Regions from separate parts of the Homo sapiens genome. Here regions 1, 2, 3, 4, 5 and 6 are each linked to region 7. The links are contacts of gene promoters, found by promoter capture Hi-C in blood cells and fetal thymus (Javierre and others, 2016). All regions are on one chromosome and are shown on one strand. Each heading gives the region's core, a stretch centred on a gene start or on the middle of the fragment in contact. The rest is flanking DNA. Distances are from core to core; before and after follow the strand shown.

Region 1 (3,154 bases), core at 222-2,721, 1.1 Mb after region 7:
AGTGATATACTCTGGAGCTGTACCACTGAACCATTCCACCCCACCACTGCAACTCTATATGGTTATTTTTTTGGGTCTTGACTCCTTTCTTGGGCTTTTTGTCAGCCATGGAAAGCATTACTGTTGCAGCTGCTGCTTCTCGAAAGAAGTTTCAGGTACCTCATGTATGTGCACACAACCAGCATTAGTAAGTAAGCCTGTTTTAATTCTGGAGATATTTTACCTAAGAAATATTTAAGTGTGTGAAGAGACTACTTTTCTGAGTGTAGAAATTTCAGGGCAGTCAAATGCATTTCTGTATTGTTAATGCTCTGAACAAGCTAGTGTACCTGGAGGGAGGAATTTATGTTGGTTAATGAGTAACATAGTTCTCTCATCCCATTACTTATTTATGATCAATTTATTTTTAATTAAGCTTTTAAAATTATTAATGCTACATGACATGCAAAGTTAAAATCAGCATGGAAGAATGAATGTACCATGAAAGTTAAAGGTTTCTATCCCTACTCTTACTTCATAGAGTTAATCATGGTTAGTAGTTTCAGATTTAGTTATATTAGTAAAGTGGTTCTCAATTCATGACTGGCATTTTTGGCAGTACTATACTTTGCAATGCAGGATTGTCCTGACCTGAACACTACTCAGTGTTTAGTGTCCCTTAATATTTGGTTTTCTACCACAGTTACTGAGACAATCAAAAATGGCCTAGTACATTTCCAAATGCTCACTGGGGAGAGGTGGTATGCTAATTTTAAAAAACATACATCTTAGAAAGCATATGTTTATGTTTTCAATTTCACACAGTAAGTATTGACTCTAGTATAAAAGAATATTTAAGTGCGCACAGACTTCTTGAGGGAGGCCCAGAGAAAGTCCACTTGGGAGGAACTGTGCTTACTTCTAAAGTCTTAGATGATAAGATTTTTCAATCTTACCTGCTTTCTTTCCTGATAGTCTTACTTTCTTGTGTTTTCAGCTACCTGTCTTTTTGTTACTGTTTGATGATTTTTGAATTGTGTGCTCTTGCTTCGCTGGGTTTTATTGGAGGAAATTCTGTGCAGCCCAGTTAGAGGACACATTCTTTCCAAGGTTTGCCAAGGCTTTTCTTTGGCACCTGTGGAAGCCACTGACCCAAGACCACTTCGTAGTTTCTCTGCTTGGGGTGTTCTGAACTAGGCAGGTAGGTATATTTGGAACCCTGAATCCTTGAGAGTAGGCTGTGATTACTAATTCTCAGGTGATATTTTTTTCTGCTAATATGGAGTCCAATCTGAGACAGGCCAACTTCCTTATTGTCTTCCTTGGCCAACAGGCATGTTTTTATTAGACTACTCTTACAAAGTAGGGGTTAGTCCTATAAGGTCTCAGCTTCATGTGGGAAGGTCTAAGTTGCATTTTTCATCTTGAACAGGCCAGGGCCTAAATGGCAGCTTCTGAACTCCTGGTTACTGAAATCCTAAACACCCCAGGGCAGTCATAACTTCAGTACCTACTTACTAGTTTGTTTTTTCCCCTTCATATTGGCTCACAGGGATATTCTTGGGGACTTTTTTTTTTTTTTTGAGGGGATGTTTTCAGTATTTTATTTTGCATTTTTAGATGTTTTGTGAGAGAATTATTTTCAGATTTTCAAGGGTACCTTCTTTGCCAAACCAGCAAGCCTTTCTTATCTGTTTTCTAACTTCTAAGCAGTTCCTAAACTTCTGGTTTGCTAATCTCTTTCTCTTTTATTTTTGTCTCACCTCCCCTCCAGTATTAGTGCTGTTTTATTCTTTTTTAAAATTACATACCTGTTTTGTCATTTCAGTGGGACCTCAGGAGGGAGGGAACATAGGCATGTGTGTTCAGTCTTCCACTTTAACTGGAAGTGTGTCTAATAGTTTTGAGGTATACTATGTCTATTAGGACCAACTGACCTTAGGAAAAATCAATGTAAATACCTTTCCATTTAACTGTCATTTTAAGTTTGAATTTAAAAAGCATAGTCTTTGGCTGTAAAAGAGGGACAGGGTCAGGAATGGAGGATGACATTCAGACCATTATGCAGTTGAGCAAGGCCTCACTGAGATAGGGGGCAGTGTGTAGCTTGACATACGTGGGCTCTTACCATAAAGTCTAGCTATATAAAGCAAATCACATTACAATGATGAGAAGCCAGAATTTTAAAATTTCATCCAATGAGTATTTATTAAATGTGATGTGTCTGGAGTAATACTAAGAATTAGAGTACAAAAATAAATAAAATGCCATATCCTCAGTGAACCCACTAATTTTGTGTTAGAGATAGACATGTAAATTAAAATAGTTCTCATTATTCAAGATAGTTATGGTGTATAAAGTCTCTGCAAATGCAGAATTATCAAATGCTGAGCCGTGTTGCTTCTAGGGGAAATGCAGGGTTAGGTTCCTGCAAGCCTTTAGTCACAGTATGTTCATCAACTGGTCAATATATAGCCTTTTTTATCTGTATTTCTCTTTAAAGATACTTTATTATATATTATTGATTCATTAACATTGTACTCATAGCCAAGCTTACCATATCTTATGCCTGAACAAAGCTTGTCTAATATGTACATTTTTCTGTAAAGCACACCAGAGCCTTTTCATGATAAAGAAACACTAGATAGCACTTCAGTGCTATGATTGGGGACCATTTTGTGAAATCACAAACAACAGAAAAATGCAAAAAAAAAAGTGGCACAAAATAAACTATGAAAAGGATACTTGTTTTTAGTATGAGAGCCGAAACAAGAAAGCAGAGTGTTGCTTTCTTCCACCTCAGCTGGGACTGTGCAATGTTGGGTGACTCAAATTTTTCACCACTCTGCATATCCACTAATGACCACAAAAGCTCTGTAAGTATCGATTATTGGATTAAAAGTAAATTTTAGCAAGTAGGCAAATTCGCAAACACAGAATAATGAGAATCAACTGTACTGTATAATGTGGTAAGTGCTGTATATTGTAAATCTGCTAGGTTGGGTCAGGGAAGGCTTCATTTGAGACAATTAAGATGAATTTACAGCAGTATGAAGCAATGAATCTATGGAATGGCAAATGGTCCAGAGTGGTTGGAATAAAAGGGCCCCTGTAAGGAGAGGCAAGTGGGGACGTTTGGACTGGCCAGCTAACAGAGGAGGATGTGAAGGCCCTT
Region 2 (3,146 bases), core at 329-2,828, 1.2 Mb after region 7:
TGGAACACGTTTCTGCTCATGTCTTCCACCACAAATTCAATGCCTTTTTCATCTTAAGCAAGCACTTACATCACATAGCGGCCATAACATTTGCAGTTCGAGGTGAGATAGCAAAACTAGCACAAATTTCTTTTCTCTTCTTTAGTTTCACAGAGAGATTTGGTTCTTGAAATAGATCTTAGCAACTTCAGCATACAATTTTTTTCTTTCCATATTGAGAACTTTCACTTTCTCACTTTACAGCTTCTCTTTGGAATATCCCAATTGCCCGCATCATTACTATTGCACAGAGGGGCCATTACTAGATAAAATAAGGGTGATCCAACTCAAACACTGCAATGTCATGACAGCCAATCTGATAACCTAGATGGCCACAAAGTGACCAGCAGGCAGGCGTGTAGACAGCATGGATATGCTGGACAAGGGATGATTTGTGTCATTGGAGAGGACAGGGCAAGACAGCATGAGATTTCATCATGCTACTCAGAATAGCACAAATGTAAAATTTATGAATTGCTTATTTCTGGAAATTTCCATTTAATATTTTTGGATGGAGACTGATAGTGGGTAACTGAAACCACAAAAAGTGAAACTGCAGATAAAGGGAGCCTACTGTACCTTCCTTTGGCCAGAAATCAGTCACAGAGTCTCTCCTAATTGCAAGACAGGCTGGAAAATGTAGTCTTTGTGCTCCGGAAAAAAAGGAACTGGGTTTCGAGAGCAGTGGCCGACACAGCTTTGTACAAAATAATTTTAGAGGGCAAATAGGTGATGGCCAAGCCCAGAGCTTTTGTAAAGAATCCCAACTAGGGTAAACCAGACAGCTGAACTGATTTAAATGACATATTTTTGGATTGTATAATACATTCTGTTTTTTAAAACGAGCCGTTCTTAATCTTACACCTGATTCCAAGAGTTATCTAAGAATACAGGGAGAGACTGGTGATAGAGTGGGTGTGGTTGATGTTTTCATCTATAACAATTTATTACTGATACAACTTCTTAGCTGAGTTATAATTGGAAGGGGAGTATGAGAATTGTGTACACACTTGTTGTTTGGTAAGGTCCTTAAAAAGACTAATTGCAATGGAAAAAGCAATTTGGCAAGGAAAATTATCCTGGCACCTGACTCAATCTTGACTGATTGCTAAAAGCACCAGTGTAATAAATGTGTTTGGTCTGAATGATGGAAAAGAAAACAACCCTGCAAGTAGAGCTTCTGTCACCTTAGGCACCTGTGATATCATGAAAGCTTTCGTTTCAAACTGTTGGTAGAAATGGAATTTTTTTCTAATACTATATGTTGAAACCTTCAAGCTTCTTTTTTTCTCCCCCAAAGAACTGTACCTGTCATTTCATTCTGAGGCTCCATCTCTGTAAGGAGTCTAGACATCCAGTGGGAATGGGCACACAGGGACTTCAGAAATCAAGTCAGCTTGCTTTCTGCAAGTAAATCCATCTTCTTTTGCTAACTTTCTTATATTAAAAAACAATAAAAAATCAACACCACCCCAAACCAAGCAAATCCCAGTGTCAGTGTGGGCAGCCAACTAAGACATGGCTGTTTGATGATTTTGGAGTTGGTGCAAATGCTACGTTTGAGTTCCAACTCTGCCTCTTACTTGCTGTCACCACTATTCCAAACCTCCACTTCCTTATCTGGAAAGTGGGAATAATCACGCCTAGCTCACTGAGTTACTGTGATTAGATATACCAGCAGATACTTGATAAATGGTAGCTATGATTATTAGTTTCTGATTCCCTGGAATTCCATTCCATTTTACAAATACTGTTGAGTGCCTACTGTGTACCTGAATAAATCTGGATTCCTGCCTTTAAGAAGCTTACAACCACTAGAGGAGTGACGTGCTGAAAAAGCTTTAAAAGGTCCCAGCAATTCTGACTTGGCAGAGGGAGTTTTGGGGAAACATACCATAGAAAGACCAGCCTTTGATTAGGGCCTCACAGAGAAGGCTGAGCAAGCATGCTTCAAAGTTCCCCAAATCCATTTCTCACCTCTCCTTGCTCACCAAAAAGCCTGGCCCCGGGTAATGCTGGACCTCCTCTCTAGGAATGATTAGCCTTACATTCTAGAATTAGAAATAGACTTGAGGTATAAATAGCCCCTAGAGAAGTCACAGTGCAATAAACAATCCCATTAAGTTTTAAATGTCGATACGGATCCTTTCTTGTCGAAAATGGACAAAAAGTTTACAAAAAGAAAATTAATATGAAATTATTCCACAACTTCGCTATTTTTAGCTTAGTTAGAACAATGGGCACTGTTAAATTGTTTAGCCTAAAGCTCCCTCCTTAGTATTTCAAGTTCAGCCTAAAGGTTGCTCCGGGTATAGTGAACTGTAACCTCACTGGATGTGTTAGGTTACAGTTCAGCCAATCACAGGCCAACTGCTCAACCCAATGTTGAAATAAGGCAGCTGTGCAGCTGTGCCCAAACCAACTGTTTCTGTACGTCACTCCCCTTTTCTGTACGTCACTGCCCTTTTTCTGTCCTTCAATGTTATCCAGACATGTGGCAGCCCCAGAGTTGCTCTGAACCTATTCTGGTTCTGGGAGCTGCCTGAGGCAAGAATCATTCTTTGCTCAATTAAACTCTGTTAAAGTTCATTTATCTAAAGTTTTTCTTTTAATAGCACCAAGTTAGATATCTATAATACCCACATTTTTTGGATTGCTTATTTTTGTCCAGCATGATCCTTTATATACATCATTTCATTGGATCTTTGTACAACTCTATAAATTATTATTGTCCCTATTTTACAGATGGCAAAAACTGAATCCTAGAGAGGCAGCCTATAAATCTGGCACAATATATATGAGGATCTGAACTCAGATCTGAGTTCCATGCCCTAACTTTTGATTACTGCCTAATGGGTAAATCTGGGGAAGACATCAAACATTTAAACATAAACCTCAAAGTCCATATTTTTACCTTTAGGTAAATTAATATTCATTCACTGAAAACAGATTATTTCTTCTGTTCTTAAATGTTCTCTAGGTTAGTGACTCCTAAAACAACTCCTGTAGTTCAGTCTAGTGATTTCTATGGCCATGATATTAAATTACATTATTTGTGTGTGTGTGTGTGTGTGTGTGTGTGTGTGCATGTTTGCCTGTTTTCACAG
Region 3 (2,803 bases), core at 240-2,739, 1.6 Mb after region 7:
CCTGGCCTCAAGTGATCTGCCCACTTTGGCCTCCCAAAGTGCTAGGATTACAGGCATGAGCCACCACACCTGGCCCATGCTTCTTAGTTCTAATAAAGAAGAATTAAAATAAGTGGAAGAGTAGAAACCTAATGCTGTACTAGTTCCTGGAAAGATTTTTTTATAAGGGTTGTTAGAGGATGCTCATCTTTTAAAAATTCCCTAATAGTGACTGAATGGTTGGAGAGAGGTAGAGGCTTGGAAGAGCAGGAAATTAAGATGACAACTTGTTTTTTCAGTCCCTTATGTTACTGCACTGAAAAGTGTTTTTATGGGCTGGCCATGGTGGCTCATGCCTGTAATCCCAGCACTTTGTGAGGCTGAGGCGGGCAGATCACTTGACGTCAGGAGTTCGAGACCAGCCTGGCCAACATGGTGAAACCCTGTCTCTACTAAAAATACAAAAACTAGGTGGGTGGGTGGGTGTGGTGGCACGTGCCTATAGTCCCTGCTACTTGGGAGGCTGAGGCAGGAGAATCACTTGGACCCGGGAAGCAGAGGTTCCAGAAAGTGCCACTGCACTCTAGGCCTGGGCAACAGAGCAAGACTCCGTCTCAAAAAAAAAAAAAAGTGTTGTTATGAATTCAACACATATTTCTGTGATTTCTTGCTAACTATGTGTACTTCAGATAATTTCAGAAATTACTGAATTCAGGATTGAGAAAAAGAAATCTACTTTGACAATTTACGTAACAAAGTCATAAAAATTTTACTTGTTTATGTATCATACTTATCATTTCCTTTAGAACATTTATAGTTCTTTTGCATGGCACCATCTCTCCCCACTTCTGCTATAGAGCTAAGCATGGTGCTCGATACTAACAGCCAGTATACTTGATACAGCTTTCACTGCCTTTTTCCAATGCTGCCTAGTCTGAGAGGCAATGGGAAAGTTCAGCATGGTACACACATACTGCAGTCATTATACGCTAGCAGGGTAAGAGAATAACTGCTAACATTTATCTCTGTTATTTGATAAGTAGGTTCTATTAATAATATTCCCATTTTGCAGACTGCGAAGCAGAACAGAGGAGTTCAGAAACTCTCCCATGGACCGCAGGTGAGTAAGTGGCAGATCCAGAATTCTACTCATGCAGTCTGACTCTAGAATCCATGCTCTTACATATTCCACTATGTTAGCTTTCAAAACGTTACTGTCTGCTAATAAGACACCGAGGTTGAGGCTGACGATGGCAATATTCTGTCCTTGCATTTTGGTCCAAATATTCATGTATAGAGGAACTGCAGGATAGGACAATTCTTGAGTCTTTTCTACCTCACCTAAATGCACTCAACAAATATTTGTCTTTGCCTACCATGTATCATTTCTGTCCCTCTCTCAAGTGTTTTCACTCTTTCTCCAGAGGTGGCCTCTCTGTTTACGCACATGTGTAGGACTCCTCAGCAAAGACCGAGGTGTCTAGTGTGGGAGAGATTCGATGACTAGTGTACGGGATTCCTGATAAAACACATTCACAAAGACTCCAAGGTTTGCAGCTGGGAGAACCTGCTCCAGGGTGTTAAGAAGGACTGAACAAACTACTCCCATTGCTTTCTGCATCTTATTTCAATGGGGATCTTTCAATTCTATCACTGCTGCATCCACGTCCAGACTCTGTGATTGATGCAAACACTGTCCCTTGTGCTGATCACCTGGGCTAGGATGAAATTTTTAAAAGCTAAACCGTGAGAGCAGGAAAGAAATAAAAATAGAAAATAGAAGTGGAATAAAAACCACCAATTCTACAACGTTTTGGTTTCTGATTGTAACATGAGAGGCTGTGTCAAGGGGAAAGTTTGGGAGCACCTGCAGAGAGTCTGATTTGATGGGTCCATGGTGGCGCGCCAGCTGATTTGTAAAGTCGCAGCTGTGAACAAGTTTCCTGATCTATTGAGTCACACATTTGTGACTTGAGTCCTTTGTGCTCCTTGCTTTAATTTTATTATTGAAGAAATCCCAATAATAAGAATTAATACAGTTCTGATTCCAGGTCACATTTTACCTCTTGTCTTCAAAACTGTTGAATCATAAGCCTTGGTTGGCACCGTGGGAGGAAAGGGCTGCTGGGTGCGGGCTTTAATGCCCGTGTAGAGGTCCTCAGGTGACGTGAAGGTGGGGAACATGGCGCCGCGACAGATGTGTGTGTGGTAGGGGTGTTCAATTGGATATGGCAAGCAGATCTCTCTAAGATTTATTGAGGAAACAAAACAAAATGAAAAGAACAGAAAGAAGTATGGTTGAAAAAATTAATCATCAAAAATTTATTGGGACCCTTTTTTAAATGGCAGAAACTGTTCTAATGCTGGGGGATAGGACAGTGAGTCAATGTCCCTGTGCTCATGGAATTAGCATTCTCTTGGAATGTATACCACAAAACAGGACATTTTCTTAATTTTGCTAGACAAAACTAAATTTAATTTTAAAATAAATCATGCCCAATTCTTTGTCAGTGAGTAAGTTTCATAACTCGTATAAAAAATATAAAGCAAAAAATAAATGAGTTTTGTGTTTGTAGAATGGTATAGTTGCTTTTAATTACTGTGTCTTATTTTAAGAGGCTCCCAGGAATTGTTTTGGGCATTCTGCTTCAGCAAAGTGATCTCTAACCATCTTTGAATGAACTTTCAACCCAGGCCATCTGTTTCTTTAAGCAATCAATCAACAATCAACAATCAACAAAATATAACCCCTGTTTATATACACAGTACTGCTTCAAAATCAAAAAGCCAAAAACAGCTAGCACACTGAAGGAAAAAATAAACA
Region 4 (2,802 bases), core at 140-2,639, 1.3 Mb after region 7:
ATGGTGGTACCAACAGAGAAGCCAGGAAATAGAAAAAGAACAGCAAGAGGATCCCATCTGGCTGCTGCACTGAGGATCTACAGATCACAGGGAAATCAGGGTTGAAGCAGGGGGGACAGTGGGGAGCCCTGGCTGGGGTCCAGGTGAGAGAGGTGGGTCTGGGACCAGCGAGCACAGTGGGCCTCATATTGTTTAATCCTATTTATATAAAATGCCCCAAACAGGCACATTTATAGGCTGGGGAATATTGAGAGAAATGGGGCAGGTGGCAGAGGGGGTGGATAATATTTGCTAAAGAGGATTCTTTTTGGAGTGATGAAAATGTTCTAAAATTAACTGTGCTGATAACTGCACAGTTTATTAAATTCACAATTCTGTGAATAAAAACCATTGAATTGTACACTTTACACGGGTGAATGATATGGTATATAAGTTATATGTTCATAAAATTGTTACCAAGAGAAAAAAAAGATAGATGGCTGTTTAAAGCTAAAGTATTAACAATGTACTACATGGTTTATGATATACAGAAGACGTATGAAAAAATAGTAGAGAGGTTGGGAAGGGAAAATGGAAGTATACTTCTGTAAATCTCACTATATGAAACTGGCATAATATTATTTGATGATATTAAAAATATATAACATAAATCCTAAAGTAACAACTTTAACAAGAAACAAAACAGGTAAGTATAGCTAATAAGCTAACAGGGGAGATGAAAGAGAATGATAGAAATTATTCAATCCAAAAGGCAGAGAAAGAGGAAACGGAGAACAAAGAACAGATGTGACAAACAGAAAAGAAACATCATGAGGGCAGATTTAAGCCCAGCTACATCTACAATCACAACAAACGGAAATGGTTTACACAACCTACATAAAAGGCAGAGAAATGTCAGGCTGGGTTACAAAGCAAGATTTGGGAATCCTAGGCCCATGGAAATAGGTAGATTGCTCAGGAAAAGGCTGATGGGGAAGTATGGCCTAGGAGAAGGATGCTAAGGCTGAGAAGGGAAGGATGTAACACAGGAGCACACAAAACTACTTTGAGAAGACCCCTCGCATTAAAAAAAAATCCAACTTTTGGCTGGGCGCAGTGGCTCATGCCTGTAATCCCAGCATTTTGGGAGGCCGAGGCAGGCGGATCACAAGGTCAAGAGATCAAGACCATCCTGGCCAACATGGTGAAACCCCATCTCTACTAAAAATACAAAAATTAGCTGGGCATAGTGGCGCATGCCTGTAGTCCCAGCTACTCGGGAGGCTGAGACAGGAGAATCACTTGAACACGGGAGACGGAGGTTGCAGTGAGCCGAGATCGCACCACTGCACTCCAGCCTAGCAACAGACTGAGACTCCATTTCAAAAAAAAAAAAAAAAAATCCAACTTTTGAAAAAACAAAGAAGAGGTGCTTATAGCATGAGTGAGATTTACCAATTAGGAGGCTAGGAACCTTATGAGAATATTTCCAGAGGGTTTTGGTGAGAGAGCAGTTTTAATTTTAAACTTTAATAGCAAAGGTGAAGAAAGAAAACCATGGTACTTGTCACTTTAAACTGGAAATACTGATTGCCTCCAAAGAGAGAAACTGAGTGGCTGGGGAAGGGGGTTACAGTATACTGTTTCGTACTTTTAAAGTTTAATAGACTGCGTGTGTGTGTGTGCCTGTGTGTGTAAAGGTAACGTGTGATATCACTAGTAGCAGAGAAAAATATTTTTAAAATGTATATGTGCTCACTGTCCAAAAACCTAGGATGCTTATATGTTCCTTCTACAGTACACTTTTTTTTAATAAATTGAGAGATTAACAAAATTAATCCATCTAGGAAATATCTATAGCCTTATTTATTCTTTAGAAGATTTACCCACCCAACCCCAACTCAAAATATAAACTGAACAAAATTTTAGGAACAATCATCTCAAAAATGAAAAGAAGTAAGCAATGTAAAACACGACTTCAGAAATAAAATTTAAGTTTGACAAAAGCTGAAAACCCCTCTGCTGTCTACACTCTGATAAACAACTGTAAATATTTAATGTCTCTTGAAATATGTGAGGCATTTCAAATGATTTTTACATAAGATAAAGTTACAGAAATAAATGGAGGTGGCTCAGATAAACTAAGTGAGAGATGAGAGGCAAGAACAGGTGGCGCAGATCCTTCCAACCAGGCCCAAATCCAAGGACCACTTTTGATCTCAGTAAGAATTGACAGCAATTCTTGGATAAAATAAATAGATAACATATTACACAATATGATGGAAGTAAAATGTATTAGCACATTACCTTGCCAGAAAACAAAATTTCTAGACTCAGCATGACACGCAGAGATAGGCGGATGGTGGCTGACCTGATGGAAACAAAGGACAGAAAAACAAAAAATGAATGAACTTTTGTGTCTCATGAAATCCATTCTTTCTCCCCTGCACTGAGATGTAACAGCGTGCAATGCTGAACTGAAGGAAAAACTTCTTTAGTTTCCCTCATCAAGTGTGTCCTCAAGAGGGCGCTCCTGATACAGTCAGCTCCCACTTGCTCAGATTGGTCAAGGCTGAGGGGAAGGCCCTTGAACGGAAGCCTCCAGAAGCCTCCGTGGGAGGGCGGCCAGGTGGCGAGTGATGAGGATAGAGGCGCATTTTGAAAGACATAAAAATAAAAACGGAGACATGTGAGGACTGCTCATCCATAACATATAATCTGACATTGGCTACCAATGTCAACATCTCTTATTAGCTGTTCTGAAAGTAGCTGCAGATGTTTTAATTAAGATATCAAATAACAAGTATTTTAAATGCAACCCAA
Region 5 (2,897 bases), core at 109-2,608, 1.6 Mb after region 7:
AAAAACACCTGCAAATGCATCTGGCAAAAGTTCTGCTTCCTAATTAGGAAGGATTTAATGACTTTCAGTTTCCAGTAATGGCGGCCTAGGTTATTTGGACCAAACTTCCCACTGAAAACAACTAAAAATACTGGGAGGAGAAAAAAAAATCTTAAAAACAACTAGCTTTTTGACAAGACAGAAAGGGATAAGTGCTACATAGAGGGTAAATAGGAACCCAGTGAAGTAAGCAAGCAGGGAAGCCACTTCTGCCCTTAGGGCAGGGCTGATCCTGGCAAATTTACATTTTTGTTTTAAGGTGAGGGATATGGAAATCAGCCAAGTGAGGAAACTAAAGGAGACCATCTACACAAGAAGCTGGGACCTTAAAATGCTTACCCTCTCATGTTCAAGGTGAGTCAGAAGTTAACCAGTTCCCCTGTGGCCCCAGTTTGCATCTACCCTAAACTTAAGCTTGGATTTAAGTGGTCCTGGATTGGTATTATGGTATATACCTATAAGGCACTTTGCAGGACAAACAGGAATCCTTTCAGTAGGAAGGATTCTTGCGGGAAATCACAAGATGTGTTCTAAAGGATGAGTAGGAGTTATCTAGAGGAAACAGAAGAAATACTGTGGCATGCAAGGGAATAGCAGGTAAAAAGGCCTAGAGTTTAATAGACTGGAAAATTCCTGACAGTGTTGACTTCAGTGTAGAATCTCTCTTAGGGAAGAATTACTTTTGTTTGGTAAAATATTCTGTTAAGCCCCTTGCAGACACAGAGACTCTGAAAGTATGGGTGGTGGTAGGAGCTCAAGCAAGCTCAGACTGATTAAACTGCTCTGCAGTGGGAGAAACTTGTTTGTTTGCTCTTGAAAGAGGGAGAGGAGAGGAAAGGGGAGTAAGGGAAGAGGGAGATGAGAGGAGCCAGCAGGATGGTGAGGCTACTGGGGACTGCACTGGTTGAAAACCCAGGGAGAAACCCTTGGCGACAGCTGGTTAAAGACCTTTTAAGAATGTGGAAGTTATGGCTAACAAGGTGTTTTGGTTACATGTAGCATGGCATGGTGTGACTCTCCTTCCTGATCCCCAACAGTTCAGTGAAGTTTACCAGGCTCACAAATGCTCTGCATGGACAAGGTCCTTAGAGAAAAATGAGGGATGACTGAGTTTCACATCTGGGTCAGTGTGTTGTTTTAAGTGGAACCAGGAACCCAAAGTCAGAAGTGACCATGAGACTTTCAAATGCTATCCCTATCCTTGTCCTGGGAACTTGGATAAATTTGGAGGAATTCCACAAGGCATGGAGTAAAGATCTGAGATCTCAGTAGAACTTACCCAGATCTTAGGGGCTGAGAAAATAGAGTTGAATTTTGAACTATATTAGAAGAGTTGATATAGAATTCTAGAACTTGGGGCATGTAGACAAGGGCCATGGTGAGAGGTGGAGCATGAGAGGAAAACAAGGACAGTATCCTGTGGGGCCTTCTAAATCCTCTGGACTATACCCTGAGAACAGTAGGATCCAGTCAGAAACATGGAGGAGAGGAAGGGGGTGGTGGGGTGAAGGGTTGGGGGAGGAGGGCGAGAGAAGGAAGGGGGAAGAAAGTGGGAGAAAAAGGGAGGGAGAGAGAGGGGGAGAGAATGGGAAAGAGAAGGGGAGATAGGTAGGTAGATAGGGAGAGAGAAGGGGAGAGACAGGAAGAGAGAGAGAGGGAAAGAGAAAGAGGTATGGACTGTGGAGCTACTTTTTTCTCTTTACCAGTACAGTGCTTGGCTTAACATAACCCCTCCTCCCCCACCTGTAATAATTGTTGAATAGAATGAAGAAGCAACACTCAGGACTATAAGTGGAATGTATTATCTTGTGAAGTCACTAGATTGAGAGTTGGCAAAGCATGGCCCATGGGCCAAATCCAACTCCCTGCCCGTTTTTGTAAACAAAAGTCTATTGGAATACAGCCATGACCATTCATTTATGGACTATATACATACGGTCTATGGCTGCTTTTGCCCCACAATGGCAGAGTTGAATAGTTGGACAGAGACCGTAAAGCCTACAATATTTACCATCTGGCTCTTTACAGAAAAAAAGTTTGCTAACCCCGCACTGGCTAGGCAAGGAGAGTCCTGGGCCCACTGATTTGGGGTGCTGCAGAAGGGATGCTGGCATTCAGCTCTCAGACCTCTACGTCCTCCCTAGCTGTCTGACAACGATCAACAGACACGATTTGGGGGACATGACAAGTGAAAAATATTTAAATGCATTTGATTAATGACAACCTAAGCTTTAATATCTAAGTTTGTAAAAGTTACATTCAAAACCTAAATGAGTCAATTTCTCAACATCTGACCCCCGTATATTACATCGTCCCCAGAAGATGAGCCGGTAGAAAATGCTAATCAATCATTTGGGCTGGCATCCACCTAAAGCTGGAAAGTTGCAGGAAATCATTTAAAATAAAAGACAATGCATAAATAAGTCATATTTCCCTCTTACTTTAAGGTATCATGTCTCCCTCCCCTTAGCCTTAATACTCACAGAATTGTAGAGAAGGAACCAAATTAAAATAAAAATTGACATTTTAGGATGTAATAATTTAGGATTTCATGATAGGATTTCATTATAGGCTCCCATTTGTTTCTGGATTCACTTCATTGCTTTCTGATTCTTAAACATTTTTAAAAAATGATAGTTATCTGCCAACTCCAAATGAGGGCTATGTTTTAATAATTTTAATGAAATTTTAAACCTTTCTCTTTCCCCCTCTCTCTCCGTCTCCCTTTCTCTCTCTCCCTCTTTTCCTCCCCCTCTCTCTCACTGTCTCTCTCACTCTCTCTCCATGTCTCTCTCCCTCTCTCTCCCTTTCTGCTAGCCCAGTAGTTCTCAATGTAAATAAAATACATCTCTATAACA
Region 6 (2,763 bases), core at 186-2,685, 1.0 Mb after region 7:
CTTAATACATCTCATCAATAGTATTTTCTCTCTCCCTTCCATGCCTGCCACATTCACAAAGAGAGGAGACAATACAACTTATAACTTCATCTCTGAATCCAAAGGGCCATGATGCACGCATTTATTCTGCAAACACTTATTAATGGTCTGGTTTGTGCAAGGTGCCCAAGAGAAGCCAGGAAAGGCTGCACAGAGGAGGCCACCTCATAACACTCCTCACACGTAAAGTTTGACTTGCACTTTCTACGTTCATGGTTTGAAAAGATTGCAGTAAGCATTTTGTAAAATGTAAATTACATTCTTCAATTTTAGGAAGAACACAATAGTTTTTCCAAAAGCCGCCTGTCACAGGTCTGAGGGTTCACAGAGCTCTTTTAAGGGGATCGGAAGTTCTCTGGCTGCCTTGCTATGTTTTTCTAGCCAGAAGTCTCTGCTGCAGTGCATTGCTCAGTTCCTTTCAACTGAAAAATTAAATCTGCACTTCTGTCAAAATGTGTCATCTACACATCCGGACACTCATCACAGTTCACCAAGCTCTACGCAGAGTCCAGGCTGAAAGGATGGCATGCCCTCCCCAACCCCACCCTTTTGAGGTCTGGGAAGCCCAGGTGCTGGGGAGGAGCTGAACAACTGTGTCCAGGGAGTGTCTGGCAAAGCCGACCCAGGGAGTTCCACGGGAGCCTCGGTGCTATGAAAAGAGCCAGTGTCCATGCATTTCCTCGGGTGTGAATCACACTGCCCGGTCGGGCCTTTGGGAAAAAATTAATGAAGGACACAGTCAGCGCCGTAGAACCTGCCAAATACACATCAGATCCAGTGGAGTCTGTGAAGGGGGAGGGGGAGATTTTTCCAGAGGCTTTTCTTCTCGTTCCATTTCTCTTTTGTGCCCCACGACTGGGTTCTTGAATGTAAAACTCTCAGAAAGGTCAGGGCGGAGCCTGTTTTATGCCCCGAGGAGTATCTTGCCCACCCGTAAATGCTGACAGACAGCTGCGACTTCGGCCCAGGAGACCCGGCGGGGACTGGGTCCGACCAGCCCTCTCTCGCGGGCGCAGGTCCGGGACCCCTGAAGCGAGCCGGCCGGGCGCAGAGCGCAGTCAGTCTGGGCGCTCAGAAGCTGGGAGGGGGCTCCACCTGGGCGCCCAGCCGCGGCGGGAGGGGCGGGGCCCGGCTTTCCGGAGGCGGTGGCACCTCCTCGCGCCCGAGCGCGCGCTCCCCGACGTCCGGCGCACGCGCGAGGCCGGCTGGGAGCGCGCCCAAGCGGCGGCGGCGGCGGCGGCTGGAGGAGGAGGAGGAGGAGGAGGAGGAGGAGGAGGGCGGCTGAGGCGCGGCTGGCTGCGCGCGCGGAGGCAGCGGCGGGGGCGACCGGAGCTGGGGCAGAGTGGGGAGCGAGGGAGGGGGAGGAGAGAGAGGGAGGCGGAGGGCAGTGAGAGACGCATTTCCAGTTCTCAACTACGAGCCACGAGTTTGCAGATGGGGCTGCTCGGCGGCGCCTGTGGCTGAGGGAGAGCAGCGGCGGCGGGGAGCGACCGGGAGCGGCGGCAGCGGCGGCGCGGAGGCGGCTGAGGTGCGAGCCGGTGAGTTAACTGGACCCCCACGCCGCTCGGGTAACGGTCGCGCCGCGCGCCGGGCCGGCCGGGGGCGCCCTGTTGCTCGGCGCGGCGCGCCACGCGGGGACCCTGGCCCGCCCCGCCCCCCTCGGCACCTGGGCTTCGGCGGGCGCGGGGAAGAGGGACCGGCAGGCGGCGGCGGCGGCGCCGCGGTCGGGGAGGCTGCTGGCCGCCCCCAGCCCGGCCCGCGCGGAAGGGGCGCTCGGCCGGGCTCCTGCCTCTCTGGCTGCGGGCGGCTGGGCGGGCCGGAGCTCGGCAACGTGTCTGGCCCATGCTGCTTGCCGCCGCTCCCCACGCGCTCCCCGGCGCGGCCCCGACTGGGGCTAGGGCCGCAGACGCGCGGGGCCCCTTCGGGCGCGGGGCTTGGGTGCCTACACCTCTGCGGCGGGAGTCGCGGTGGAGCCTGAATGGAGAGCCGGCCTGGGGGCGGCGTTGCTGTGACTGACACCTCCGGGGTCTGTCCCGAGAGGGGGTGATTCCGCCGGCTCCCGGTTCTCTCCCGAGCTCGGAGTTGGTAGGGGAGGAGGCTTTCTCCAACTACCGCCGCTACTTCCGAGGTACGAGACTCCAGTTGTTTGGCCAAAGTGGCTGTGGGCCGAGCACAGGCTGCCGCGGGGGCGTTCGCTGCTGAGATCGTGCTCGCGGATTCTCGGTACGTTTGTCTGAAACCAAATAGGTGCTGGGGCTTTTTTATTTTGGCTGGGTGGAGGGTCAGCAGGGGAGTCGATTGAGGTATCCGACCGTGTGGTGACAGGATGTGGATTGGTTGGTAGATGTTTTTTTGCAGAAGGACTTTTTAACACTTTACTGGGAGTTTATTCTCAATCCTACCAGTTTCTGGGATTGCAGCTCGAGATTACATTTGTTAAACTTCCATCAGTTGGGTGTGCATCTGTGTAGGGGGTGGGGGTGAAGCGAGGGAGAGAATTGAAGACTGCCGGGGAAGCTCAGAAAATTCTCCGCATTACTTATAAACAGCCGGGTAAGGTCAGGCTAGCCACGTTTTATTCTTTCCTACGCCTTTGGAGAGTGTTGGAATTTTACTTTGTGCTTCAAGTATATTACAAGTGGTCTTGTAGTGTAGCTGAGAACGTTTGGGGTGCGTTAAAATGCGTTTCAATTGGAGTATGATTTAGCAGCCATTTCTTCCCGT
Region 7 (2,923 bases), core at 200-2,699:
AACAGCCCGGAACGTGTTGCATGGGGCTTTTGTTTTCTTTCCAGGGTTTCACACGAACTCACTTCTACTAACTCACTTCTACAATTCCCTATGTAGGGTAAACTTTGGAAATGAAACTCACTGACAAACGTTCCAGTACATTTAAGCTGGGGATATCGTATTCTTTGTGATGTTTGTATTTCTCCGACCCCAAATATATTAATAAAAACTTTTTTCTGAGCCCTCTTCGGTGGGGGATAGAGTGAGAAGAGAAATGGGAGAGGGCCTGTTAATTTTCAGGTCATCTTTTAAGTTACAGAACAGTATATACTGACTAGTTATCTTAAAAATACTGAGCCAATGAATTCGTTCAGCTATGTAAGATTAAAGAAAGACAGATTTTTTTTTTTTTACCGTAAAAACCTGTAAAGGAGTGGTCAGTTTTTAGATGAAAGGTCATAGGAAGAAGAGCATTAAAAGTTGAGATATAAAGAAGAGAAAAAACCCAACATCGAGGAATTAGAAAAATAAGGCGTGACAGCATTTCCACATTCATTTCGAAGTGAAAGGAAAGTCGAAGGGACATTAAGGGAAAAGGGCTCCTTGCGTAGTTTCCCCTCACAGCTCTCGTCTTAAGAACGCTTAAGGGTCGGTGCGGTCGTTGACTAACCACTTCATTAGGCTCGTCCCACCTTCAACCTCAAGGCTTTCGCCTTTTTAGACGCAACGCCGCCGGTTCCAACAGAGACGCGGCCGCTCACTGAAATAGAGAGCCAAGGAGACACAGGCCCCAGCTAGTCCCACGCCAGCTTCTCCCCGCCCGGAAAGCAGCCCCGCGCACTTTCGATCCCGAGACCCTCTACGATGCTCGGGGTCGCCAGAAATGCCACCGCAGGAAGCACCTACCACTATCCGGACGGAGGGGAGCTCCCTGCCGCCTCCTCCCGCCCAACCGCGACGGGGACCCACACCTCGGAGCAGACATAAGGAAGCCTCAGGGGTGGGGAGAAGGGAGGAAGCAATGCGGGGGCGGGGAGGGAAGAGGACCCAGAAGTCCAGGTATCAGTCAGCCTCCAAAAAAGGGGGAGGGGTGTTATCCGTGGTGTTTGGGGAAGGAGTGGAACCCAGAAGCCATCTTGGGATGGGAGGAATCAATCGCGATGGCTCCAGAGGTTGCTCCTCGCGGGACTACCCGCAACCCCGCCCGACCGCGCTTGTTCCCGTGAAACCCCGAGCATTGGGCCGCCGCCTAGACGGCTCCCGCGGCTTTGTACTCACTCTGCCCTCGAAGTTGTTTTCCTCCACATCACTCATGTCGACGAGGCGCTCCCCAGAACTAAATAAGAGACAAGTCTCGGCTCGAGGGCCGATGGCCTAATTAACCCGCTGACTGGACCGTGGGGAAGAGGAAAGAGTCGGCAACCACAGCCGCTCCACTCCACTCCCACTCGGTCGCAGGCTCCAGCAAAATGGCGCCGGCGCCGCCAGAAATCTCCTGGCCTCCTCAGAGCACGACGTAAAGGGGGCGGGCGTCTCTGTGACGTCACGAGGCTCCACCTCCCGCGAGGCTTTGTGTCGGCTGGGCCTGGAGCGAGGGTGGAGGTTGGCGGGCGGCCTGCGCTCTCAACCTGGGCGCCTTGGAATCGCGGTCCCGTGCTGTCCTCCAAACTTCAGACTCACCTCGGACGCGTCAACCTCTTTGAAGACTTTTCAGTCGCCAGATGAGCCTTATATGACCTTAGCCCCTTTAAATATTGTCCAAGTGGATTCTGATGTAAGGGAACAAAACATTGGAAGCGTTTTTTTATGTTTGTTTATTTTTTGAGTCAGGGTCTCGCTCTGTCACCCAAGCTGAAGTGCAGTGAAGCGATCACTGCTCACCACAGCCTCAAACTCCCGGGCTCAGACGATCCTCCCACCTCAGGCTCCCGCGCGCGCCACCACGCCCGGCTAATTTTTTTCTTTTTTGGGACGGAGTCTCACTCTGTTGCCCAGGCTGAAGTGCAGTGGCGCTATCTAGGTTCATTGCAACCTCCACCTCGCAGGTTCAAGCAATTCTCCTGCCTCAGCCTCCCCAGTAGCTGGGATTACAGGCATGCACCACCACGCCCGGCTAATTTTTGTATTTTTAGCAGAGACGGGGGTTTCACCATGTTGGACAGGCTGGTCTCAAACTCCTGACCTCAGGTGATTTGCCCGCCTGGGCCTCTCAAAGTGCTGAGATTGCAAGGGTGAACCACCGTACCCGGCCCACCCGGCTAATTTTTGTGTGTTTTGCAGAGATGGGGTTTTGACATGCTGCCCAGGCTGGTCTCGAATTTGTGGACTCAAGCGATCTGCTCGCCTCGGCCTCCCAAAGTGCTGAGATTACAGGCCTGAGCCACCGCGCCCGGCTGGAATCGTGTATATATAACAGGCTTTTGGGGGGCACGTTGTCAGCTGACTGTATTACTTTTCTTCCATATTTGCCCTGTGTAATGTCGACGTAGTACATGCACAGATGAGGTTATGATGCAAAGCCGCTGCTCCTTGCCTCGTGTCCCTGCTCCAGTTCCCCCTCCTAGAGACAGCCGTGTAGTTTTTTTTTTATAATGCTTAGCTCCCTACTAGTTTTTTTGACTTAGATATTTCCATAAAGCTTCACAGTGAAGACCTCCCAAATCTGTCAACTTGGTTCCCAATCATAGTAATAATCTCTGAGATGAGTTTTACTTGTGTAATGCAACTTTAAAAATTAGTTTCATCTTAAATTTTTTTCCTACAGTGCTTTGTAGTAAAAAGATTGACATAGACTTTCAACTATAGTTCTATGGTAGGAAAGTTCATCTGGCATTATTATGAAGATTGCTACCACTGGGGGCAAGATTTCAGCATTTGAATGTCAGTTATTGATAGGGATAAACTTAAATGACATCTGGCTCTTAGAAAAGATGTTGAACTTGGC

Evidence for each region. Contacts are between HindIII fragments. The CHiCAGO score rates a contact against its expected background, and 5 or more counts as called.
Region 1: a contact is called between a fragment that was not itself captured here and the fragment with the promoter of TRA2A in region 7, in 1 of 17 cell types (non-activated CD4 T cells). The highest score is 5.8, in non-activated CD4 T cells.
Region 2: a contact is called between a fragment that was not itself captured here and the fragment with the promoter of TRA2A in region 7, in 2 of 17 cell types (M1 macrophages and endothelial precursors). The highest score is 6.7, in M1 macrophages.
Region 3: a fragment that was not itself captured here is called in contact with the fragment with the promoter of TRA2A in region 7 in 1 of 17 cell types (non-activated CD4 T cells); the score reaches 5.5 in non-activated CD4 T cells.
Region 4: a contact is called between a fragment that was not itself captured here and the fragment with the promoter of TRA2A in region 7, in 1 of 17 cell types (naive CD8 T cells). The highest score is 5.4, in naive CD8 T cells.
Region 5: a fragment that was not itself captured here is called in contact with the fragment with the promoter of TRA2A in region 7 in 1 of 17 cell types (total CD8 T cells); the score reaches 6.5 in total CD8 T cells.
Region 6: the fragment with the promoter of PALS2 here is called in contact with the fragment with the promoter of TRA2A in region 7 in 2 of 17 cell types (naive CD8 T cells and naive CD4 T cells); the score reaches 8.9 in naive CD8 T cells.

The regions. Positions count from the first base shown.
Region 1 is chr7:24,589,299-24,592,452 of GRCh38, forward strand. All of the region lies in intron 1 of PALS2 (protein associated with LIN7 2, MAGUK p55 family member), which reads left to right. It also overlaps the pseudogene SUMO2P14. Among named protein-coding and RNA genes, the nearest start is that of PALS2, 17 kb to the left of the region's middle. The HindIII fragment of the contact is 2,116 bases long and covers 414-2,529 here.
Region 2 is chr7:24,763,091-24,766,236 of GRCh38, forward strand. All of the region lies in intron 1 of LOC124901820 (translation initiation factor IF-2-like), which reads right to left. It also overlaps a transcript of GSDME not described here. Among named protein-coding and RNA genes, the nearest start is that of GSDME, 7.2 kb to the left of the region's middle. RefSeq lists an enhancer at 240-534. The HindIII fragment of the contact is 526 bases long and covers 1,316-1,841 here.
Region 3 is chr7:25,152,969-25,155,771 of GRCh38, forward strand. SPMIP4 (sperm microtubule inner protein 4) reads right to left here. Exons shown (of 10, transcript NM_138811.4): 6 at 2,043-2,224. It overlaps LOC124901603 (a long non-coding RNA gene), which reads left to right and starts at 1,050. Exons shown (of 3, transcript XR_007060261.1): 1 at 1,050-1,099. The HindIII fragment of the contact is 4,248 bases long and covers 1-2,803 here.
Region 4 is chr7:24,817,889-24,820,690 of GRCh38, forward strand. It overlaps OSBPL3 (oxysterol binding protein like 3), which reads right to left. Exons shown (of 23, transcript NM_015550.4): 17 at 2,287-2,350. Among named protein-coding and RNA genes, the nearest start is that of GSDME, 62 kb to the left of the region's middle. The HindIII fragment of the contact is 7,449 bases long and covers 1-2,802 here.
Region 5 is chr7:25,171,445-25,174,341 of GRCh38, forward strand. All of the region lies in intron 2 of SPMIP4 (sperm microtubule inner protein 4), which reads right to left. All of the region lies in intron 1 of LOC124901603 (a long non-coding RNA gene), which reads left to right. Among named protein-coding and RNA genes, the nearest start is that of SPMIP4, 7.5 kb to the right of the region's middle. The HindIII fragment of the contact is 1,815 bases long and covers 452-2,266 here.
Region 6 is chr7:24,572,017-24,574,779 of GRCh38, forward strand. PALS2 (protein associated with LIN7 2, MAGUK p55 family member) reads left to right here and starts at 1,436. Exons shown (of 12, transcript NM_001303037.2): 1 at 1,436-1,577. RefSeq lists enhancers at 585-654, 675-774, 1,640-2,139, 2,085-2,134, 2,185-2,304 and a silencer at 915-1,984. The HindIII fragment of the contact is 6,948 bases long and covers 1-2,763 here.
Region 7 is chr7:23,530,532-23,533,454 of GRCh38, forward strand. TRA2A (transformer 2 alpha homolog) reads right to left here and starts at 1,450. Exons shown (of 8, transcript NM_013293.5): 1 at 1,258-1,450. The coding sequence starts at 1,293. RefSeq lists enhancers at 508-1,078, 1,079-1,648, 1,190-1,239, 1,260-1,309, 1,320-1,539 and 3 more. The HindIII fragment of the contact is 3,554 bases long and covers 1-2,615 here.